3 separate regions of the Homo sapiens genome follow, and regions 2 and 3 are each linked to region 1. The links are contacts of gene promoters, found by promoter capture Hi-C in human tissues and cell types (Jung and others, 2019). All regions are on one chromosome and are shown on one strand. The core of a region is centred on a gene start or on the middle of the fragment in contact, and the rest is flanking DNA. Distances in the headings are between cores, read along the strand shown. Region 1 holds the start of CELF4 (CUGBP Elav-like family member 4). Region 2 has its middle 32 kb from the start of MIR4318. Region 3 overlaps CELF4 (CUGBP Elav-like family member 4).

What was found. The method cuts DNA at HindIII sites, captures the fragments that hold promoters and counts their contacts. A contact is called where the count stands out against the background at its distance.
Region 2: a contact is called between a fragment that was not itself captured here and the fragment with the promoter of CELF4 in region 1, in 3 of the 25 tissues and cell types used here (H1 embryonic stem cells, liver and lymphoblastoid cells).
Region 3: a contact is called between a fragment that was not itself captured here and the fragment with the promoter of CELF4 in region 1, in 2 of the 25 tissues and cell types used here (H1 embryonic stem cells and dorsolateral prefrontal cortex).

The regions. Positions count from the first base shown.
Region 1 is chr18:37,562,877-37,567,638 of GRCh38, reverse strand. CELF4 (CUGBP Elav-like family member 4) reads left to right here and starts at 1,841. Exons shown (of 13, transcript NM_020180.4): 1 at 1,841-2,283. The coding sequence starts at 1,998. LOC124904288 (a long non-coding RNA gene) reads right to left here and starts at 1,362. Exons shown (of 2, transcript XR_007066345.1): 1 at 1,250-1,362; 2 at 951-1,060. RefSeq lists an enhancer at 1,794-2,297. The HindIII fragment of the contact is 29,207 bases long and covers 1-4,762 here.
Region 2 is chr18:37,686,342-37,691,103 of GRCh38, reverse strand. No RefSeq gene overlaps it. Among named protein-coding and RNA genes, the nearest start is that of MIR4318, 32 kb to the right of the region's middle. The HindIII fragment of the contact is 5,790 bases long and covers 2-4,762 here.
Region 3 is chr18:37,482,209-37,486,970 of GRCh38, reverse strand. It overlaps CELF4 (CUGBP Elav-like family member 4), which reads left to right. Exons shown (of 13, transcript NM_020180.4): 2 at 1,364-1,446. Among named protein-coding and RNA genes, the nearest start is that of SNORA111, 18 kb to the right of the region's middle. RefSeq lists an enhancer at 2,406-3,452. The HindIII fragment of the contact is 6,201 bases long and covers 1-4,762 here.

The DNA of each region.
Region 1 (4,762 bases), core at 592-3,091:
GGGTTAGGCCAGCCGCTCAGCCCCGCCGCCCCAGCTCCCCAGCCCCGCAGCCCGCGGGGGAGCGGGCGCGTTATTTCAATTTGCCAGGCTTCTGAAGCGAAGAGGCTGCCCTGAAAAAGCAAACATGAGAGAGGACGGGGTGCAGGTAAATATCATTAACGTGAAAATCTGCTACCCCAGCCAAGTTCACCACCAGTATTCACCCCTACAGGCGGGGCCGCTCGGACCCTGCTCCCGGCTCCGCGCCTGCCACTCCCTTTCCCGCGCAGCCGAGATGCCAGCCCCAGTGGGCCTGGCGGGGAGTCCGGCGGGGTCCGGACCGGGCGGCTCGACCCCCGGTCCCCACGGCAGGAACGACTCAGCCTCGCACCTCGGGAGCTGTAGGTGCCGAAAACGAAACCCGCGGGGGCAGCGCACGCCGCGCGAGTCTCGGTCCGGCGGCAACCCAGATAGCGATTCAGGGGCTTTATTCTTTTGATGGTGATTAAAAAAATATATTCTATTTGAACCCGTAAAGCAGACGAGGGCAAATCAAGCCATCCCCCGCGCTGGCTCACCGGCCACCGCGCCCAGCGCCTTCCTCCCCCTCCGGCGGGCGAGCGGGCAGGGGCGCCCGACTCCTACCTTCCTCCCGCCAGCCACCGGGGGACCAGCCGCGCTCTCCGGGGCGGGGGAGGCCGCCCGGGACGGGGACCCCCACCTTCCGCCTTCGGAAGCGGGTTGGGGCGGGGGTCGGACCCCGAGTCTCTACTCCCCGTCCCTCTGCCCCCCGGCGCGGCCCGACAGCTCCCAGCCCCATCCTGGCAGGTGGCTTGGGTGGCGGTAGATGCCGGGCGGGAGGAAGATGTGGGGCTGCTCTGGCAGGTTGGGGGTGCGAGGAGGAAAAAAAAACAGAGAAAGACACACACAGAGAGACAGGGAGAGAGCGCGCGCGAGAGAGCTCTTGTCTATAGATTTATCCACATAATATATATTTATGTAGCTTTTTTTCTCTCGACACTGATGAATGCGCGCTCGGATCCCCGGGCGGACTCCCTCCAAGCCGGCTCGCTTTTCTAGTCTAAATAAATAAATAAAGCCAGATGGAAGAAAAAAGCGCCCATTCCACCTCCGCCGCCGCCCCGCCCGCCATCCCTGCCTTTGCTTCGCCCGCCTGGCGCCCTAATAGAGCATAGCTTGGTGGATAAAGCCCCCCTACATACCCACACGAAAATAAAAATCACTATTTTTAAAATACAAAAAGTTGCACCTGCTGCTATTACAAAAAGAACCCCCAAAAGGCAAAGAGAGGAGGCCGGCTGCCCGGCTCCTCACGGACACCCGCTCCCCGCGGCCGCCGGGCCCGGAATCTCAGCGCCTCCCGAAGAGCCATGCGCCTGGCGCTATTTATAGCCGGGGGCCGTCTCGGACTGTACCATCGCCACGGCGCGGGGCCGCCGACGGGGGAGGCGCGGTGGCCGCCGCCCCACGCCGCCCTGCCCCCGGCCGCCGCCCGCCGTGGCGCGGGCCCCCACAGCGCGCCCATTCCCGGCCCCCCGCGCCCTCCTCCGCGCGCGCACACTCGCCACCCCCACCCCTGGTCTGGCTGGGAACTTGAACCGGTCCAGCCTGTTTAAACGGAAAGGACAGAGATCCTGTCTGTTCAATGTAAAAAAAAAAAAAAAAAAAAAAAAAAGAAAAAAAGAAAAAAAAAATCAGATCAGACCGAGAGAGAGAGGAGAGAGGGAGAGAGAGAGGGAGAGAGAGAGGGAGAGAGAGAGGAGAGGGAGGGAGGGAGAGAGAGAGGGGGGAGAGCAGAGAGAGAGCGCGAGCGCGAGCGAGCGAGAGAAGAGGAGAAAGAGAGAGAGCAGAGAGCGAGCGGAGAGCGAGGTGTAGAGAAACCGAGGGGGAGAGAACCCGAGTGTGTGTATGCGTGTGCGTGTGTGAGCGCGAGCGAGCGAGAGAGAGGAGCGAGAGAGTGTGAGCGAGAAAGAATAAAAGGAAAGAAGATTTTCTCTATGTATATAAAGATGGCCACGTTAGCAAACGGACAGGCTGACAACGCAAGCCTCAGTACCAACGGGCTCGGCAGCAGCCCGGGCAGTGCCGGGCACATGAACGGATTAAGCCACAGCCCGGGGAACCCGTCGACCATTCCCATGAAGGACCACGATGCCATCAAGCTGTTCATTGGGCAGATCCCCCGCAACCTGGATGAGAAGGACCTCAAGCCCCTCTTCGAGGAGTTTGGCAAAATCTACGAGCTTACGGTTCTGAAGGACAGGTTCACAGGCATGCACAAAGGTGAGTACACCTTTCCCTCCCAACTTTGCCGGGGAGCAGGAGCGGGCTGGCGGGCCGACCGGCCGGCCGGCGACTGACGAGCGGCGGACTAAGCGAGAGGAAGCCTCGGGCGGGCGCGGTGGAGGGAGGCGCTCGGGCAGCGGAGACCAGAGCTGGGGTGCGTGGGGAGCTGTTCGCTGGGGCAAGACTGGGTTTTGGGCGAGGTGCTGATAGGAACGATGCCATGGAGAGAGCAGCGGGCGCCGATGAAGAGAAAGAGAGAGGGGATCGAGGAGACGGGGCTTGGATTTTTGGGTACAGCGACCTGAAAGATGGGGATGGGGAAGGCTGCACCGGTCGAGCCCAGGACGCTGAGCGGACGGACTCGCGGGCTCCTGGCCGGCCGAGGACCGAGGGTGCTGTCCATCGCCGTGGTGCTGAAAATACTAAAGGAGGTGGTCTCCTCATCCTTTGCTCCGGGCTAGAGTAGCAGGAGCGCAGCCGTCTAAAAGGGAGAGAGGTGACAAATTCAAAGAGAAATTTTTATTTAAATGTAACAGTAAACTCTCCCTGTCGAGCTGTGTGCCTCAATAATCTGATTGTGGTGTGAATGGTGGTGTGTGTTGGGGGTGGGGGGGTTGGATGTTTGAAGGAACCAGTGATAAAACCTAAGGCAAGAATTAGCAAGGAACCAGCCATCCCCTGGGTGGAGTGGGGGGTCTGGCAAGCCTGGATAGTCCCCTTCCCAGGAAAGCGGGGCTTTGGGAAAAAAATATGTGTGTGCGAGATTTGCATTTTGAAAGGTGTACCCTAATTTATCCCAAACTCACCATGCAGAGAGCTTTATAGTACATTATTTCTCCCTTGAAGCGATCATTGCCAGTGAGTGCTTGGGGGAGGGGGAGACAGAATAATCAAAGAATTAAAACACAGCAACTTTTTAGGAAAGTGGTCATGGGAATTGTCCGCAGCCTGCCTGTTTTCTCCTTGTTTTATTATCTTTAAAGCAGAGCCCCAAACGTGTTCAGTTGTAGAATGTGTGTGGGTGGCTGGTGGGTGACGAAATTAGCCCAGTGCTCCGCTTCCTAACAGTAATATATAGGATGTGCAGCGGGAATGAATCGGTGCTGGATCTATGTGGGCAAGTTAAATGCTTTCTGAGAGAGATTGATCGCCAGGCAGGGAAGGAGCACGGGGCTAAGGAAGTTGTAGGGGATGTGTATGGATGTTCCGTTTTTAATAAACAGTAGTGTGGAGAGCCGCCGAAGATGCTGTTACAGCTGGTGGTTTTAAAGATGAAAACACACGCACACCCACCCCCACATAGAGAGCAGCCTCATCCTTGGCCACAAATGGGCTATGGACACAGCTGATCCTCCAGCACATTAGGTGCAGAGCGCAGAGCTGTCTGGCTCTCTAAGCAGCAGCGATTTTCACTATCACAACCACCCTCTTTCTCCAGCCCTCCCTTCGTTCGAATACTAAACAGAGCTCCAAACTCTTCATAGTTGGAGTCCCAGAGAGCAGTTTTTATTGGCTTTAGTATCTTCCAGCTTGCCTGCTGAGGAGTAAATCTTAAAGTTAATGGCATGTTGAGTAACACAAAAACACAGCAGAATGGAAATATACTGGGTTTGTTGGGGTGGGGTGAGGGTGGGGGCTGTAATGGAGAGAGAAGGCAACCTTTATCCAATATGGAGAAAATGTCTGTCTGTTCAAAAGAGAGATTGGAAAGGTGGAACGGGGAGGCAGCCTTCAAAATAATATTCGAAGAAAAAAAGAAAACACTTTCTTTTTCCCCCCCTCCCTCTCAAGTCAACCATATCTTTGTAGTTTTTCCCCTTCCAATCAAGCTTCCTAGAAGCTAATCAAGGTTTGTATCAAACCTTTGTTATTCTGAATGTCCTCATTGTAAAAAATAGTAATAATAAAAATTTTGAAAGCATAGGTAGGGAAGTCTTCTGCTCATCTTAATGATCAGTTTTTATGGTGATTTAAGATTTTAAAGTTAAAAAAATCAGAACTCACTAGAGGCAAAAGACAGTTATGAGGAGCTGGGCTTCATATGGCATCTGGATTAAAGCACTTTATTTGCTTCTTCATTTCAAATGAAGATAAACTTTAACAATATTCCTTGGTTTCTTTTCTACAATCCCTGATATCATCACTTTGTTGCTGATGTAATTTGGACTCTCTCATATAATAGCAAAGAAGTAGAATTTTCATCATTTGCATTAGGGAGGTAGAGAAGGTTATGATTATATATATAATATATACGTAATACATATATTACATATATTTTATATATAGATATAGATATCGATATATAAAATCTGGCCAGAATTCCTAGGACAAACAAAACTTCATTTTCTAAATAATTTCTCCCCTAAACTGTCTCAGTCAGTGGCAAGCAGGCCCACTAGCTCCGGCATACTGGGTTCCTCGTTGTCGCAGCTCACCCTTCAGAGCCTGAGCATATATTTTTCCCAGTGAAACTTCC
Region 2 (4,762 bases), core at 1,647-4,146, 120 kb before region 1:
AGCACTAGTAGGATATAAAGTGGTGTGTCAATGACAGGAATATGTTCTGAGAAATGTCTCCTTAGATGATTTTGTCATTGTGCAAGCACCATAGGGTATATTTACACAAACCTAGATGGTACAGTCTACTACACTCCTAGGCTATATGGGGTAGCCCATTGCTCCTAGGCTACAGACCTATGCAGCATGTTACTATACTGAATACTGTAGGCAACTGTAGCACAATGTTGAGTATTTGTGCATCTAAACATGGGAACTGTGCATTAAAAATATAGTATAAAAGATTTTTAAAAGGTACATATGTATAGGGCACTTAGCATGAATGAAGCTCGGAGGACTGGAAGTTGCCCTGGGTGAGTCAGTGAGTGAGTGGTGAATTAATGTGAGGGCCTAGGTCATTACTGGACTCTACTGGTAGATTTTATATATTCAGCACACTTAGGCTACACTAAATTTTTTTTTTAATTTTCTTCAATAATATATTAACCATAGCTTACTATGACTTTTTTCTTGATGAACTTTTAACTTTTTACTCTTATAATAACACTTAGCTCAAAACACAAGCTCATTATACACCTGTAAAAAATATTTTCTTTCTTTATATCCCTATTCCATAAGCTCTTTTCTATTATAAAATTTTTTTCTTTTACTTCTTAAACTTCTTTGTTAAAAACTAAGACACAAACACATACATTCACCTAGGCCTACACAGGGTCAGAATCATCAATATCACCGTCTTCCCCCTCCACATCTTGTCCTACTGGGAGGTCTTCAGGGGCAGTAACACACATGGAGCTGTCATCTCCTATGACAACAATGCCTTCTTCTCAAATACCTCCTGAAGGACCTGCCTGAGACAGTTTTACAGTTAACTTTTTTTAATAAGTAGAAGGAGCACACTCTAAGAAAACAATAAAAAGCATAGTGTAGTGAATATATAAACCAGTAATATAGTCACTTATTGTTATCAAGTATTACATTCTGTACAAAACTGTGCTAGACTTTTACACAATTGGCAGCACAGTGGGTTTCTTTACACCAGCATCACCACAAATACATGAGTAATGCTTCATGGCCCTGTGACAAGATAAAAAAAAAATATTAATCATCCAAACCTTTTCAAGAGGTCATGACCTAGCAGGAGAAGCAAGAGAAATGTAAGTATTAAAATTATTTTTAAATGAAATTTTCAGCTCCATTATACTCTTATAGGACCACCATCACATATGCGGTCCATCATTGACTGAAACATCTTATAAGTCACAAAATTGTACTCATTTTTAGATTTTTAATTGACTTATAAATTTTCAATATTGGACCTCAAATTATATCTTCAGATTCAATATATATAAAATAGAGTAAGCTTTCTTAAATCAGATTTTATTAAGGCCTCAGAAAACCACTATCACAACCACACATTTTACAAAATTAAAATGAAATATGGAGCCATGCAGTAGCTTATATTATGCCAATTTTGAGAGAAAGAATTTGAGATTTAGAAAGAACAATGATTTTGTTAAGGTGGCACAGTCCCCTGAAAAAGAAGGCCACGTTTGAACCCTATCATTTGAACTTGAACTCTAAGCCCATGCCCCTCCGCCCTGACCTTGCTAATGTAATGGTTCATCTGTCCATAAACAGGTACTTGTTTGAGCACCTACTTGCTATCAAGTTCTAGAAGAGATACAAGATAGGAAGAAAAAAATTACCCAGGCCTTCTGCTGAAGAGGTCATAATCTAGCAGGAGAGGCAGGGGATCTATAAGCATTAAAATTATTTTTTAAATTAATTCAGAAAACATTACCAGATTGTGTGCCAAAGATAAGATTTACATAAGTTCCAAAACAAAATGGGGGATAGATATGGGGAGCCATATGTCAGGGACTCTCCAGGAAAGAATAAAACATTCAAATTAGGAGAGCTTCTTTACAGAGAGTTTATTACCATGGGGCAGGCAGGGTGAAGAGGAAGCAGAAGAGCTAGTGCAGGAACACAGGGACAGTAGCAGTGGAGTTGTGGCCAGCTTCAGGCTGAAGGGAGAAGGAGAGGGAGAAGCTACTGACTCAGAAAGGGAGAGGTCCTCATGTAGGGCAGACCACAGAGAAGGCAGGGACCTTACAGTGGCAGATGGAGGTGATCCCACAGCAGGGAATGAAGCGGGGAAATACTTTATCCCCACTGAAGTCCCTCCTTATTGGCCCAAGAAGCCAGAAGCCAAGGGGCTCACATGCCCATTGACATAATTCATACAGGATATCCTGCAGGTTAGAGGGCAGAGGACAGATGGGGAGTGGATCTGGAGAGCCATGGGAGATATGAGGCATGGGGGACTCTGAATTATAGATGGATCTGAGTAGACAGGGATGAAAACCATCACATCAGGAGCCAGTGTTTGAAGGCAGGATAAAGGTGTGAGTGAGACCAATGGAAGATGGTGGTTGGTGAGAAACCTGGCTGAGGTAGACTGAATGGGCTTGGTAGGAGAAGAGTGGGATTTGAAGTTGGGCCAAACATTCATTTCTTGAATTACAGGTTAAATTTTCAGCACTTAGTAGAATATCAATGAATGATTTTTAAAGAAATACATCAATCCCACCATTAAATACATGGGCATGAGAATCAGGGATGCCAAAAAGGAAAGCCTCTCTAGATCTACATGCAGAGAGGAGTGTTGTAGGTGAACTGGGAGAATATGTTTGGTGTCTTTCATACATTTTCTTCTTCCTGGCCTTTAGTTTTGAAATCTCTGTCCCATTCTTCAGTTATAGCCCAGTGAGGTCCAGGAGATACATATTTCCTTCAAAGAGAGTCTAATTCCAGGCTTTTCTCCCTGCCCTTATCTCAAGCACCAGTCCAAGACATTTCTATTGGGATTACTTAGGGGGAGGGCCTCTGGATGTGGAGAGTGCAGCAGGGCAGAAAAGAGCAAGGGAAGAGCTAAGTAAAAAAGCAAGGTCTCCAAACCCTAGCAGAGGCTCGCCAAGCTGATGGGCTGCTGCCATATCCCAGATCCAAATGCTTCCTCTCCCCAAACCCCACATTAACACTCAGGGCTGGTGCTCTCTACTAGCAATGTAACAGCATGAACATGTTGGTCTCCACGGGACTTTAGGCTGAGACCATTAAACACTCATGGAATGAAGAATGAATTGGAAAAAAAAAATAGGAAAGGAGAGGTGGAAGCGGGGAAGAAAGAATTCTCAAATACCTACTCATCAGCGGGGATGTCCTTACTGACCACATGTGTCTCCCCAGAACAATACAGGGTACTGCTGAAAGACCCGAGAAGAGGACATACTCCAGCTGAGGGACAGGACTGTGTCAAAAGGCAATCACCAAGGAGAATCATCAAAGGGCAGGCTAAACAACACAGAACTGGTCATAAGTGGAGAATGAATGCACAGAGAGCAGAGGTCAGGGGAGTGGTGAATCTGAGGGGCTCAAAGGGTAGGCTATGTTTCAACAAGATGAGTGGATGGAGAAAGGTTCCCAAGTGAAGGCAACAGCGTGAATGAAGACAGGACGTCAGAATAAGCAAGGCTGGTGTCCAGAACATTGAGGAGACAGCATTGCTAACTCTCCCAATTCACATCACAAATATCAACACCTCCTGCCCCAGTACTGCACAAGGCACAGGGGATCTGGAGATTAGGGAGAGTCCCTGCTCTCCAGAAGCTGTAGGGTTACTTCCAGCTCTGAAAATCTAAAAGTGATGATAAACTAGCCAGACTTCTTACCCCACACAAAGATTCCTTCCAGAGAATTCTGGAATTATGGTAGGCTAGCTTCTACTCCAACATCCCCAGATAAAGTCATCTTCATCCACTCTTGGACAATTTTAATTGATAGAATTTCTGGCCAGACGCAATGGCTCAGGCCTGTAATCCCAGCATTTTGGGAGACCAAGGCAGGTGGATCACCTGAGGTCAGGAGTTCGAGACCAGCCTGGCCAATGTGGTCAAACTCTGTCTCTACTAAAAATACAAAAATTAGCTGGGCTTGGTGGCACATGCTTGTAATCCCAGCTACTCGGGAGGCTGAGGCAGGAGAATCGCTTGAACCCAGGAGGTGGAGGCTGCAGTGAACCAAGATCATGCCATTGCACTCCAGCCTAGGTGACAAGAGCAAAACTCTGTCTCAAAAAAAAAAAAAAAAAAAAAAGAATTTCTATTATACAACAACTGAAATCATTCCCACACAACGTTTTTGTGATGAAAACCATCATGATTATGATCATGCCTGTCAATCTCTCCACACCCATTCCTCTCTGTGGATTCTCTCCCAGGACTCCACAAGGATGCTGGGACCGCCACCCTCCTGGGAGGATCTGTGATGACAGCCTCTACTCTTTCTCAGAACAAGACCCCACGTCTGCTCCAGCCTTAGATTCTCCCAGCACTCTGGGCCTCTGTGTTTCAGTCATGGCACAAAGTCCACCTAAGGGTCCAGTCTGGTGGTACAGCACACATTAAATGGCCAGAACCATCATAAGAAATGTCCAGGTGAATATCACAAGAACTCCCACCCACAACTGCTCTCTTTCTCTCCTTATTGACACAATCCTTTGAAAGCTGTAGGGAGTAGAAAATTGCTTCCTTTCTGTTAATCAAGGATACTCTTTAAGATGCTTAAGTACAATACTGTTTAAAAATGGGCAGTTTTATATAAAGGAAGGAAAAAAGTACAGCAGGAATGTACAGTATATCAGATTGAATTAGTTTTTCATGCCACAACATGTAAACAAATCTGTTTAATTAGAACA
Region 3 (4,762 bases), core at 638-3,137, 81 kb after region 1:
GTGGAGACTGGCTGGGGATGGACTAGACCAGCCAAGGAGGGCTGCCTGGAGTAGGTAGAACTTGATCAGATTCTTGAAAGATCAATGGGTTTCGGAGAAGTGAACATGGGGAAGAGGGGTATACCAGGTGAGGAGGTGGTGAGAGCAGAGGAATGCGGGGGCAGAAGGGAACACAGGTTGTTGGGGATGTGGCCTTGGATAAGATCACGTGAGAGAGAGAGGAACAAGAGAGGCAGCCATTCCACAGGGTGCCTTCTCTGGGGCCATGGGTGGCTTGAAAAGGTCTGAGGTGACTGTTCACCAGAACATTCAAGCCTGCTTCCGCCATAGTGAGCTTTTGGGCTTTCCCCATGGTTTTGAGCCTTGCAGGCCTCCCAAGCCACCTTCAGCCACATCTGCAGGCAGAGAAAGAAGGCCTGACACTGGGCATGCTGGACAGCTTATGGGAACTCCCAGAAAGACTCCCCCATCCCCACTCTCTTGGCCTTGTCACCACACCTAAAGGACAGCACTGAAAAGTCACCCCTTGAGTATATTCTTCTGTCAAATCCGGATTCCCTGGCGAGGAGGTGGGGTGTGGCCCAGTTAGAATTAATCAGTGGGAGAGCTAGACTGAGCCTTCTCAGTTCGCAGGTGGGGAGACTGAGGCCAGAAAGAGGATGTGATTTGTTAAGGTCACCTAGGGAATTAAAGGCAGAGCAAGGGTGGTCTAGTGCTGTAAGTCGGTGGCCTGGATATGCCCTAGAAGCCCTCTGACTTGGAGGGGTGTGAAGACCATCTGTCACTGCAAATCAAACAACAGGGGTTGGGACAGGGGACACAGGGTACGTTTATTTTATTAGGAGGGCCTGGCTTGGGGTCCTCCTTACAGACTGAGCCTTTATTTGTAAGGCTTAGAGGAGCCCTCCACCATCCCTGAGGGAGCAGCGCCCAGCACTCCTACCGGCCAGAAAGACAGCCCATGGTCAAGTGTGGCTAGAGGTGCTGGGGGTGAGGGGTGGAAGCTGCCCCTTCTAGGAAGCGTAGGGGCTGGCGCTGAAACAGGGCAGAGAGGTCTGAGGCACCAGGGTACGGGGTAAGGAGAGAACCGTAAGGAGAGGGGGGTGTGGTGGGGGGAAGATGCAGGGTGGGGAGACTCCGCGGAGGGAGCAAAATAGAAAAGCAAAGGGAGGTACGAGAGGCAGACAGCCGGGAACACCGAGAGGCAGAGAAGCTCCGAGAACAGTGCACGGGAGAGAAAGAGAGGTGGGGACAGGGACCGAGCGGCAGGGAGGGGCGGGAGCCTGGAGGGCGGGCGGCAGGGCGCGTCGGCGGGCCCGGGGGCGCCCCACTGACCCTTCTTGGCGCTTGCTTTCCTCCCCAGGCTGCGCCTTCCTCACCTACTGCGAGCGTGAGTCAGCGCTGAAGGCCCAGAGCGCGCTGCACGAGCAGAAGACTCTGCCCGGGGTAAGTGGCGCCCGCCGTGGCGCAAGCGGCCGACGCGCCGACAGGGGGCGACTTCGGGAGGCCGGGCGGCGGCGCGGCGCGCGGGGAGAGGACGGCAGGGCGCCCGCCGCCCCGCCTGAGCTCGGGAGCCCGCGCGCCCCCCCAAATCCCTGGGCTCTCGGCCGTCCGGGCCCAACGGGATCCGGGACAGGGGCCCCACTTGGCCGTGGCCGTGAAGTTCCTGCGCGGGCAGCCTGGGGCGGGGGAGCGGCGCGTCCCGGGTCCCCGGAGCGGGAGCTGCCTCCGCCGGGCCCGCGGGCCGCGTGCGCGATCGAGTCCGCCCATCGAGTCGACGCGGGCCGCTCTAGTGGGGGAGGAGGGGGCCGGCGTGGGAGGGGGCGCCGCAAGTGAGATCACCGCGGTTTATTTAAGGAGCCAGCCCTCGTCTTTGATAAACTATCGCGCCTCGGCCCTGGTTTATAGCTTCTGTGCGGGGGAGAAGAGAATTATTTATGGCCCCCCTAACTGGGTGTGATATCAGCCATGGCTATTATCGAGGCTAGTTCATCACCATAAAATAAGAAGTATTCTTCGGGTCAAGGGTCTGCGCGGTCTCTCCTGTGGGTTCAGAGAGATGGGGCGGTGGTGAGGGGGGAGAGATATACGGCTGCTGAGTATCTAAGGATAAATGGAAAGATGTGTGTTTGTGGGCATAATTTAAAGATTTTCTAAATATAGTGTTGACGCTTATACAATGGACACTGCAGGGAAGCACATGTGTTCTATAAGTATGCACACCCATGCTTACACATGCATGTTTACATTCTTACCAAGCCAACCGTATGTAAACACACGTTTCCATTTCTACCCCACAGCGGGAAAGGTTAACCAGGTAGACGGAGAGAAAATGCAACCCCGGGCGGGGGCAGCCTTCCTTTGCATCGAAGATCTTTCTTTACTCGTTTAGGGGTGGGGAGAGCTGAATTACACAGGGCCTTCCTTCCATTAAGACAGCCTTTGTATTGTATTTTGGTATTTGTGATTGCAAAGCACGGGGCTGAGTCATCTTAATAACATACCCACAGATGCAAATATATGGAAATCGAGCACCGCACAGATTTTGTGTGAAGCCCAGCTCTGGCAGGGTGGCCATTCCCCAGTTGTTTTTTCAGTTGCGCGGCTACATGCACATATATTATAGTAATTACTTTCTGGGTGCCCTCTGTAAGACGGCAGAAATATGCCTCACATCGCCCCATGTTATGTGTGAAGCATAAAGCCATATTGTAGGATAATCAAAGGCTTCTGAGAAAGGTTTGTGCTGATTAATAAAGTGTTTATGGTACTTTGTTTTGGGGGAGACTGTGACAGATATTTTAGAGCCACCCAAATGGAATAGAAAATACCACATTGTTATGGGAGGCCCTTCATCAGCTTGAGAGAGATTGCTAGGGAGTTTCATGGTGGCTAAAAGCCGGAATCAGAAGGGGAAACAGAAAGAGAGAAGGTGAGAGGGGGAGGTTTAGGATTTTGAAAGGGGAGAGGCTGGGAATTGGGAGTATTTCAGTAGCAAGTGTGGATTGTTGAGGATCTAACATTAACTTGTGGTTGTTTATTTTACATATAATAGAATAGCTAAATGATGGAGTGTATTAGTTCTTTAATAATTTATAGAAATACTTTGATGTTGCAGTAATTACATTAAAGGTCACATATCAAAGGTAATTTGGTTGAGCAGCTGTGATGGTTTCTCAGAAGCAATCAATATCACTGTCCGTGGTGCTGATTTCACCAAGGGGCCTGCCAGATTAAAGAAGGCTTATTACCAGGCAGAAAGGCCCAGGGGAAATCAGGAGCACATTGGAGCGACGCGCCAGCCCCCTTTCCACCCATAATTAACACTGTTCCCCATAATCTGTGCTAATCCTTCATACTGGGAGATCCAGTGGCATTTTTCTGAAATCACAAAGACAAGTTGAGTAAGTCTGAGGGAAAGGGCAAAAAGAAACGTGAGTGTATGTTGGGACGGGGAGGGGGGAAGATAGATAGAGGCCAACAGCAGAGCTGAAACATAGCCTAGAGTCCCCTCGAACACCATCCCTTCTTCAAAGGCTTCACAGGGAAACTCATGGCCTCAAAAACCTCATCAAACAATTCTCGGGGCAGGCACGCCCACCAGAGGGAGGGGCAGGAATAAAAGACCGGATTGCAGCTCGAAGTTCCGAGGGCACATTGTCTCCACACAAACCTGCATGCAGACAAATGAAACACAAAATGACCAAGTAAAATTATTCTTTAAAGTAGAGTTGTTTTGATTCCAGAAAGCAGACCTGGTGTTATTGCTGTTGGTTGGTTCTCTCCTTTGAGATCAGAGAAAGTGTGCCACTAGCAAATGCAGGGACGGGACCAAGCCAAATGCTCTCACCCAACCAAATAATAGGCGATCCTGCCAGCTGTGGCTGTGTTCATGGCTGCCTGTTTCGGTGAGAGACAGAGGGGGACTTCTTCTTGTCTGGGGTGACCACACTAGGTGCCCCAGCAAGCACACTCTATGTCTGACTAAAGAGAATGAAATTGAAAAAAAAGAACCTGGAAAACTGGTAACCTCAGCAATTTAGGCACTTTTCCAGACTTCAAAATCCATTAAAATCAATCCATTAAAATCAGCCCTCCACTTTCTCGCTGAGGAGAGAAAGAGGAGAAAAGATAGTACAGGCAGTCTATGCTGTTTCTAGTGAGTTATGGAGCTCGCATCCTGTTGCCAGCAAGAAAAATAATCCCATTGCTGTCATACACACACACCACCACCGTCACTATGAGCAACAATAACAAAATGACAGAGACAGAACTAGAGGCACCCCTAGCACATGTCTTCATTGGAGGCCTGAAAAGGGAAGCTGACATTTCTCTTGGGATCAGTGGAAGCTCAGAAACCAGACCACAGTGGCTGTTCTTACAAATCAGTGATACGTGATTCCCAGTATCCCTGGGAACCAGCCTGAGCAGGGCCCTCTGATGGCTGATGGAGTCATCCCTGGACCAGTGGCACAAATGGATTATTATTTTTGAGTTTGGCATGTTTTAGTAGAATTAGATTATTAAACTATGAAGCTTCATCTGGGTCTTTTTGAGCACTGCCTTCTGCCAGAATCCAGGCAGAGTGACTCCCTTTTTCTAATCTCTCTGCCTCTCTCGCCCTCATACTCTTGATCTCACTCTTTCCTGACTTCCTGTTCTTTTCCTGCCCATGCTCCTCTATTCACAAAATTTGTTTCACTATTCACAGGGGACAGTCAACATGGGGCAGTTTCTCAATCCATCAACAAGTATTTCCTGT